2 separate regions of the Homo sapiens genome follow, and region 1 is linked to region 2. Evidence: promoter capture Hi-C in 16 types of primary human blood cells and fetal thymus (Javierre and others, 2016). All regions are on one chromosome and are shown on one strand. The core of a region is centred on a gene start or on the middle of the fragment in contact, and the rest is flanking DNA. Distances in the headings are between cores, read along the strand shown. Region 1 overlaps CD22 (CD22 molecule). Region 2 holds the start of HAUS5 (HAUS augmin like complex subunit 5).

Region 1 (3,673 bases), core at 767-3,266, 280 kb after region 2:
CTGACCTTGTGATCCCCCCGCCTCGGCCTTCCAAAGTGCTAGGATTACAGGCGTGAGCCACCGCACCCGGCCTAAGTGCTCACCTTCTTAGAGAGGTCTCTCTCCATCACTCCCCTCTCTCGGCCTTATTTTTTTCCTAACACACATATCACTACCTACAATAGTGTTGTATATTTCTTTGTTAACATTGCTTTGTTCCAGATTCTAATGTCTTGGCTCATGCTCTGTATTTCTTTGGTAATCCATTTGTTGTCTGTCTCTTTCACTGCAGCGCTGGCTCCGCGTGGGGCAAGAGTTTTGCTCACTGCTGCACCCTGCCCACCGCCCCATGCCCCCCATTGGCAGCCGTAATAAGGCCTGGTACCTAGTAGGTTCATGATACGTATTTATTGAATGAATGAGGCACAAGATAATGATGCGAAAAAAATCCCCACCAAGAGGGGAACAAAAAGACCTAACCAGATAATCCCCAATTCATGTCATGGCTTGAGGATGGACCATTTTATTCTGTTAGGCTAGAGCAAATCTTTTTCCCGAAACACCAGGGCTGACAAGGCGGCGTGACCAGGGCTGGAGGATGCCGCCGTCTGTGCAGGCTTCCCCCTGCCCTGGGTGCATGCCCCCTGCGGGGCTGGGGAGAAGGTGACACAGACCTTGCCCTTCCCACAGGCATGCCGGGGAGACTCACGCTTCACGTTCAGCTGCACCGTGTCATTGGAGAGGAACTTCCCATCTGCATCCTGAAGCTGGCAGGTCACAATCTTCCCATGGTGACTCCACTGTGGGGAGAACTTGAGCTCGCTCCGGGTGAAGACAGACTTGATGGTCAAGGAGGTCGAGGTGACAGCAGCCTGCCTCATTGGAACCCCCTCTAGGAGCCACTGCAATTGGATCGGATACCCATAGCAGGAGAAATTCAGCAAGCAGGTCAGAGTGACTTCCTGGGACTCTTGAATTTCTGGAGGGAGCTGGATATGAGGTGGAAAAGGCCTTTCTGCAAAAGAACAGAGCCCGTGCAGGAGCCTGGGGGACTGAGGACGTGAGCGTACACCTGGCTTTAGATGTCCTGTCCCAAATCACCCCTCAGGAACCCCTTGCCACTTCATTCCACCTCTCTCCAGTCCTGCTTTGTTTTTTTGTTGTTATTGTTGTTGTTGTTGTGTTGTTGTTTTTTTGAGATGGAGTTTCCCTCTGTCACCCAGGCTGGAGTGCAGTGGCGCGATCTTGGCTCGCTGTAACCTCTACCTCCCCAGTTCAAGTGATCCTCCTGCCTCAGCCTCCCGAGTAGCTGGGATTACAGGTGCCCACCACCACACCCAGCTAATTTTTCTGTATTTCTAGTAGAGACAGGGTTTCGCCATGTTGGCCAGGCTGGTCTTGAACTCCTGACCTCAAGTGATCCTCCCGCCTTGGCCTCCCAAAGTGCTGGGATTACAGGTGTAAGCCACCACACCCGGCCTCTTTTTTTCTTTAGAGACAGGGTCTTGCTTTGTCACCCAGGCTGGAGTGCAGTGGCGCAATCCTAGCTCACTGTAGCCTCAACCTCCTAGGCTCAAGCAATCCTCTCACCTCAGCCCCCTGAGTAACTGGGACTACAGGCATGTGCCACCACACCTAGCTAGTTTTTTAAACATTTTGTAGAGACAGGGTCTTGCCATGTTACCCAGGCTGGTCTCAAACTCCTGGGCTCAAACGATCCTCCGATCTCAGCCTCCCAAAGTGCTGGGGTTACAGGCGGGAACCACTGCACCCAACGCAGTCCTGCTTTTCTCCACTTTGAATCACTTTTGCTCACCCGAAATCCCCTCTGAAAGGCCTTGACCACACTAAGCCTCCTTGGGAACTGTGATCTACTTTTCTTTCATGCTCATTGCCGGATGTCTGCTTTCTGAATGATTGCAAAGTTCTATTCCCACCACCTCACCACCTCTTTTTTTTTTTTTTTTTTTTTTGAGACAGAGTCTCGCTCTGTCGCCCGGACTGGAGTGTAGTGGCGTGATCTCAGCTCACTGCAAGCTCCACCTTCCGGGTTCACGCCATTCTCCTGCCTCAGCCTCCTGAGTAGCTGGGACTACAGGCGCCTGCCACCACGCCTGGCTAACTTTTTGCATTTTTAGTAGAGACAGGGTTTCACTGTGTTAGTCAGGATGGTCTCGATCTCCTGACCTTGTGATCCGCCTGCCTCGGCCTCCCAAAGTTCTGGGATTACAGGCGTGAGCCACCGTGCCCGGCCTATTCCCACCACCTCTAAGTGAATTTTATCAGTTTAGTTCACGGACTTTTCAGCTTTGACAAACTTGTGTTACTTTCATGGCTTCCTTCAGTATTGCAGCCATCCACGCACCGCATTCCTTTAGTGGAGTGGGTCTGTGTGCACCCAGCCTCAGCTCTCCCCAAGGCTGGACCACCTCCTTCAGACAGCGGGGTCTGAAGTTGCATTGCTCACCCCAAATTTAAGGCTGCTCAGAACTGCCCATCCGGGAAACGGTGTGGAACGGAGTGACCACACTCCCTGTGGCAGGGGCCCCCCACACCTGTGTTTGATGGGTCAAAGCCACCCCTACATGTGCAGTGCTATAACTGAACCTATGTTATAAAAATTATAAGATGTTCGTTTTACTTCTTTTCTTTTCTCTTTGTCCTTTCCTTCCTCCATGCATGATTAGTTACATTTGGTCATTTCAGTAGCAGGTAACCATTAATTCACTCATAATTGTTTAACTTACATCCTGACTCCCTGGCAGCTGCCTGCAAGATAAATGAACTTGTCTCTCTTTCAAAGAACAATGATCCTTAGGTCACACAGACCTCCTTGATGACATCCAGAAATTTGATGAGCCGAGGGGCACAACAGCTTTGACGATCGGGAGGTCACCTCCTGCACACCTACTTTACTCATAAAAGCCCCCACTAACGCTCAAAGTCAGGTCAGATTTGAGAGTTTCTCTCTTCTGTCCCCTTGCTTTGGCTAAATTAAATAATCCTATCTCAGCTTCTAAGCACTGAGGTGTCAGTGTTTGGCTGACTACGCATCGGGAGCTCAAACCTGGCCTTTGGGGTTCAACAACAGTGTCATCTGACCTTGAAGAGCTCATGAGAACTTGCCATGAACATTAACATGCTGGGAGATTTCACTGGAAAATCTAGATTTCCATCGTCTCTTGAAAAATCAGAAGATCAGGCCGGGTGCGGTGACTCATGCCTGTAATCCTAATGCTTTGAGAGGTTGAAGCAGGAGGATTGCTTGAGGCCAGGAGTTCAAGACCAGCCTGGCAACATAGCAAGACCCATTTCTACAACAAATTAAAAAGTTAGCTGGGCATGGTGGCATGCACCTGTGATCCTAGCTACTTTGGAGGTGGGAGGATTGCTTGAACCCGGGAGATCAAGGCTGCAGTGAGCTGAGATCGCGCCACTGCACTCCAGCCTGGGTGATGACAGTGCGAGACCCTGTCTCATAAAAAGGGAAAGGAAGGGGAAGGGGAAAAGAAGAGGAAAAAAAGTAAAACAAACATTTTATGATTTTTATAACACAGGCTCAGTTATGGCACTGCACATGTAGGGGTGGATTTGACCCATCAAACACAGGTCTGGGGCCTCTGCCCTAGGGAGTGTGGTTACTCCGTTCCACACCCAGTTTCCTCTATAGGGAGCTCTGAGCAGCCCTAAGTTT
Region 2 (3,412 bases), core at 438-2,937:
TTAGAGACAGGGCTTCACCGTGTTGGCCAGGCTGGTCTCGAACTCCTGACCTCAGGTGATCCGCCTCCCAAACCACATCTTTGTCCCAGTACTGATCGCTTCCTGGAGCCCTCAGGTGATCTCATCACCTGAGATGAGGCCTCAGGTGAGCCTCCCAAAGTGCTGGGATTACAGGTGTGAGCCACTGCACCTGGCTGAGCTAATGCTGTTTCCACTGGACTTTAAGCCCTATGAGGATGGAGATCAAGGCTGTCTTGTGACCCATTGTCCCCAGCATCACCCAGCACCTGGTTGGGCTTAGAGCAGAAGATCTACAAGTCATTTTTCGGATGAAAGAGAATCTTGTAGCATATGCTTCTCACCTGTGGACTGTCCTGGTGGCCATACCTAGGAAAACGAGGCCAGAGTCAGCGGATGAGTGGGGCTTCTAGGGGGGAGGGCAATAGGTGTGATGCTGTGGTGGGGACAGGGCTAAATGGGAGTGGGGAAGACAGGAGGGGATAGCTTTAAGAAGCAGTTACCAGAGTAGGTTTCCCCGGATCTTCTTGACAGTCCTACAGTGCAGAGGCAGAAAGAGGAGTTACTATGGGCCTCACCTGTGCCCCCTCCCCTGCTCTAGCCCAGCTTACCTCTGACTGTGCACATGCTGCAAGATGTAGGCCCAGATGTCAGCCCCCTGGCCCAGACACAGCCTGTGGGGACAGTGTGTAAGCATATGCCTGGGGCAGCACACAGGGTGTGGGATCCTCATTCCTAGGGTGATGGTGGTAGGGAGTTTTTACTAGGGAGTTCTCACTTCTTGAGGAGGGAAGGCCCAAACTTTTTTTTGCCTTTTTTTTTTTTTTTTTTTTAAGAGACAGTCTCGCTCTGTCGCAGTGGTACGATCATAGCTCCTTGCAGCCTCAACCTCCTGGGCTCATGCGATCCTCCCACCTCAGCCTCCAGAGTAGCTAGGACTACAGGCAGGCACCACTACACCCGGCTAATTGGTAAAACATTTTTTTTGTAGGGACTGGATGTTTGCACTAAGTGTGGTGTTATTCTCATTCCCTGGGAAGGCGGGTGGTGGGGGAGCGCGGGAGAGGCGGGTGCTCCCTTTCTCCTGGGAGTGGGTTATCCCAGTCACATCCAGAGGTGGAGGTGGGGGATGTACTGCCAGGAAGTGCCATCTCATGACCAGACGTGGGGCATCACTCCTACAGCTTCAATCCCCGATGGGGTGGCCACGGCTAACTCCTGAGTGTCCTTCTTGGTTAGGTTAAGGGAGGGAGGGGAGGTGCTGCGGGGACAGCCTCACTCTGGAGATCCTATTTCCATAAGGAGCGAGGTCTTAGCTAACTCGTGGAGGATCCTCACCAGTGCTAGGGACCTCACTCTGGGGAGCCTCCCAGGGTAGGGAGCCCTCAGTAAGTCGGGTCACTCTCGATGGGGAATTGGGGGGAGTCGAGTCCTCAATGAGGGGTGGAGTTCTCACTCCCGGAGACTCAATCTCCAGGGTGGGGTGTCCTCACTCCAGGAGCGGTCCTCACCTGCGCAGCGTCGATTCCGGGGCCCGGGCCGCCACGGGCACCCCCATCTCTTCGACCGCCCAGCAACCCAGTTCCCGCGCTTCCTGCGCTAGCTCCATGACAGCGCCGCGGCGGCGACACCGCCTCCCTCAGCCTCTTCAAGTGTGGCGCCCGCCTCTGACGTCACGGGCGCGCCAACAGTGACGTCATCGGTTGCCGGGCAGACAGCGGGCTCGGGCGCTGCATAGTAATCTTAGCGCGGTCAGGCTGGGTCTTGCAGCGCTCACTCTTCCCAGGTAGGTCTCCTTGAGTGGAAATGAAAAGGGCGTGGAGAGACTGCAGCCCCGCCCGCCTTCCCTCGTTCTCCCGCTCACTACCAGCTAACCCGAAAGAGGCAAAACAGTCCTTGATGCTTCCATTTATTTTCTTTTTCTTCTTTTAACTAAACACTTTTATTTTAATAGAGATGGGATCTCACTTGTTGCCCAGGCTAGTCTCAGCTTCTGGGCTCTTGAACTCCTGGGCTCAAGCGATCCTCCCGCCTCGGCCTCCCAAAATGTTGGGATTACAGGCGTGAGCCACCACGCTCACCCCCTTTATTTTCTTGACAAAATGGGACTTGCGTCCTAGGAGGACTGGAACCAGGCAATGAGATCCTGGACTTACTGCTCTTTGATTTCAGAAACAGGTGTCTCATGTCTGAGTGGAGGGTAGGGGCAGAGAGCATGACCCTAACATTTCCCTGGCATGCGTTTTCCCATTCATTCGTGCTTACCATTCCATAAACTCAGGGAGCTGACCCTGTGCTGGGTGATGCTGGGGACACCATGGTGACCACAACAGCCCTGGTCCCTATTGTACGGAGCTCACAGTTGAGTGGGGAGACAGACGCACCACCAGGTAGGGGTGGTAAAAATAAGCAGCAGGGGTGGGTCAATTTGGGACACAGCAGGTGTGAGAGGTCTGCGCTAGACCAGCAGTCCCCAACCTTTTGAGCATCAGGGACTGGTTTCATGGAAGACAATTTTTCCACAGTCTGGGGGATGGAGGGTGGGAGCAGTGGATGGTTTCGGGATGAAACTGTTCCACTTCAGGTCGTGAGGCATTATATTCTCTGTCTCTCTCTCTCTTTTTTTTTTTCTTCCCTGTTTTTTTTTTTGAGGTGAAGTCTCCCTCTTTCACCCAGGCTGGAGTGCAGTGGCCCGATCTCGGCTCAGCGCAATCTTTGCCTCCGGGGTTCAAGCGATTCTACTGCCTCAGCCTCCTGAGTAGCTGGGATTACAGGCGCCCGCTACCATGCCCAGCTAATTTTTGTATTTTTAGTAGAGACGGGGTTTCACCATGTTGGCCAGGCTGGTCTTGAACTCCTGACCTTAAGTGATCAGCCCATCTCAGCCTCCCAAAGTGCTAGCATTACAGGTGTGAGCCACCATGCCCCGCCTAAGCATTAGATTCTCATAAGGAGTGCGCAATCTAGATCCTTCGTATGCACAGTTCACAATAGGGTTTGCGCTCCTGTAAGAATCTAATGCCGCTCCTGATCTGGCAGGAGGTGGAGCTCAGGCAGTGATGCTCACCCATACGCCACTCACCTCCTGCTGTGCAGCCTGGTTTCTAACAGGCCATGGACTTGTATTGGTTCACGGCTTGGGGTTTGGAGACCCCTGCCCCTGCCCTAGATGAAATACTTCTCTGATGCTGACTAACCAACCATGCTTAAAAGCAAGGCCCGAAAGGATCAAGCTATTATTTAGCTGCATTCCAGAACAAAATTCAAGAATATTTATAGAGATTAAAAAAAATCCAGCATCCAACACTGTAAAATTAACAATATCTGACATCAGTAAAAAATTATAAGGCAATGGCTGGGCGTGGTGGCTCATGCCTGTAATCCCAGCACTTCG

Evidence for each region. The method cuts DNA at HindIII sites, captures the fragments that hold promoters and counts their contacts. A CHiCAGO score of 5 or more calls a contact.
Region 1: a contact is called between a fragment that was not itself captured here and the fragment with the promoter of HAUS5 in region 2, in 1 of 17 cell types (M1 macrophages). The highest score is 6.0, in M1 macrophages.

The regions. Positions count from the first base shown.
Region 1 is chr19:35,333,357-35,337,029 of GRCh38, reverse strand. It overlaps CD22 (CD22 molecule), which reads right to left. Exons shown (of 14, transcript NM_001771.4): 4 at 689-994. Among named protein-coding and RNA genes, the nearest start is that of CD22, 6.0 kb to the right of the region's middle. RefSeq lists a silencer at 3,516-3,673. The HindIII fragment of the contact is 4,678 bases long and covers 1-3,673 here.
Region 2 is chr19:35,611,010-35,614,421 of GRCh38, reverse strand. It overlaps HAUS5 (HAUS augmin like complex subunit 5), which reads right to left and starts at 1,687. Exons shown (of 19, transcript NM_015302.2): 1 at 1,530-1,687; 2 at 630-692; 3 at 522-554; 4 at 363-387. The coding sequence starts at 1,627. It overlaps HAUS5-DT (HAUS5 divergent transcript), which reads left to right and starts at 1,758. Exons shown (of 2, transcript NR_186318.1): 1 at 1,758-1,804. RefSeq lists enhancers at 1,550-1,809, 1,398-1,953. The HindIII fragment of the contact is 7,658 bases long and covers 1-3,412 here.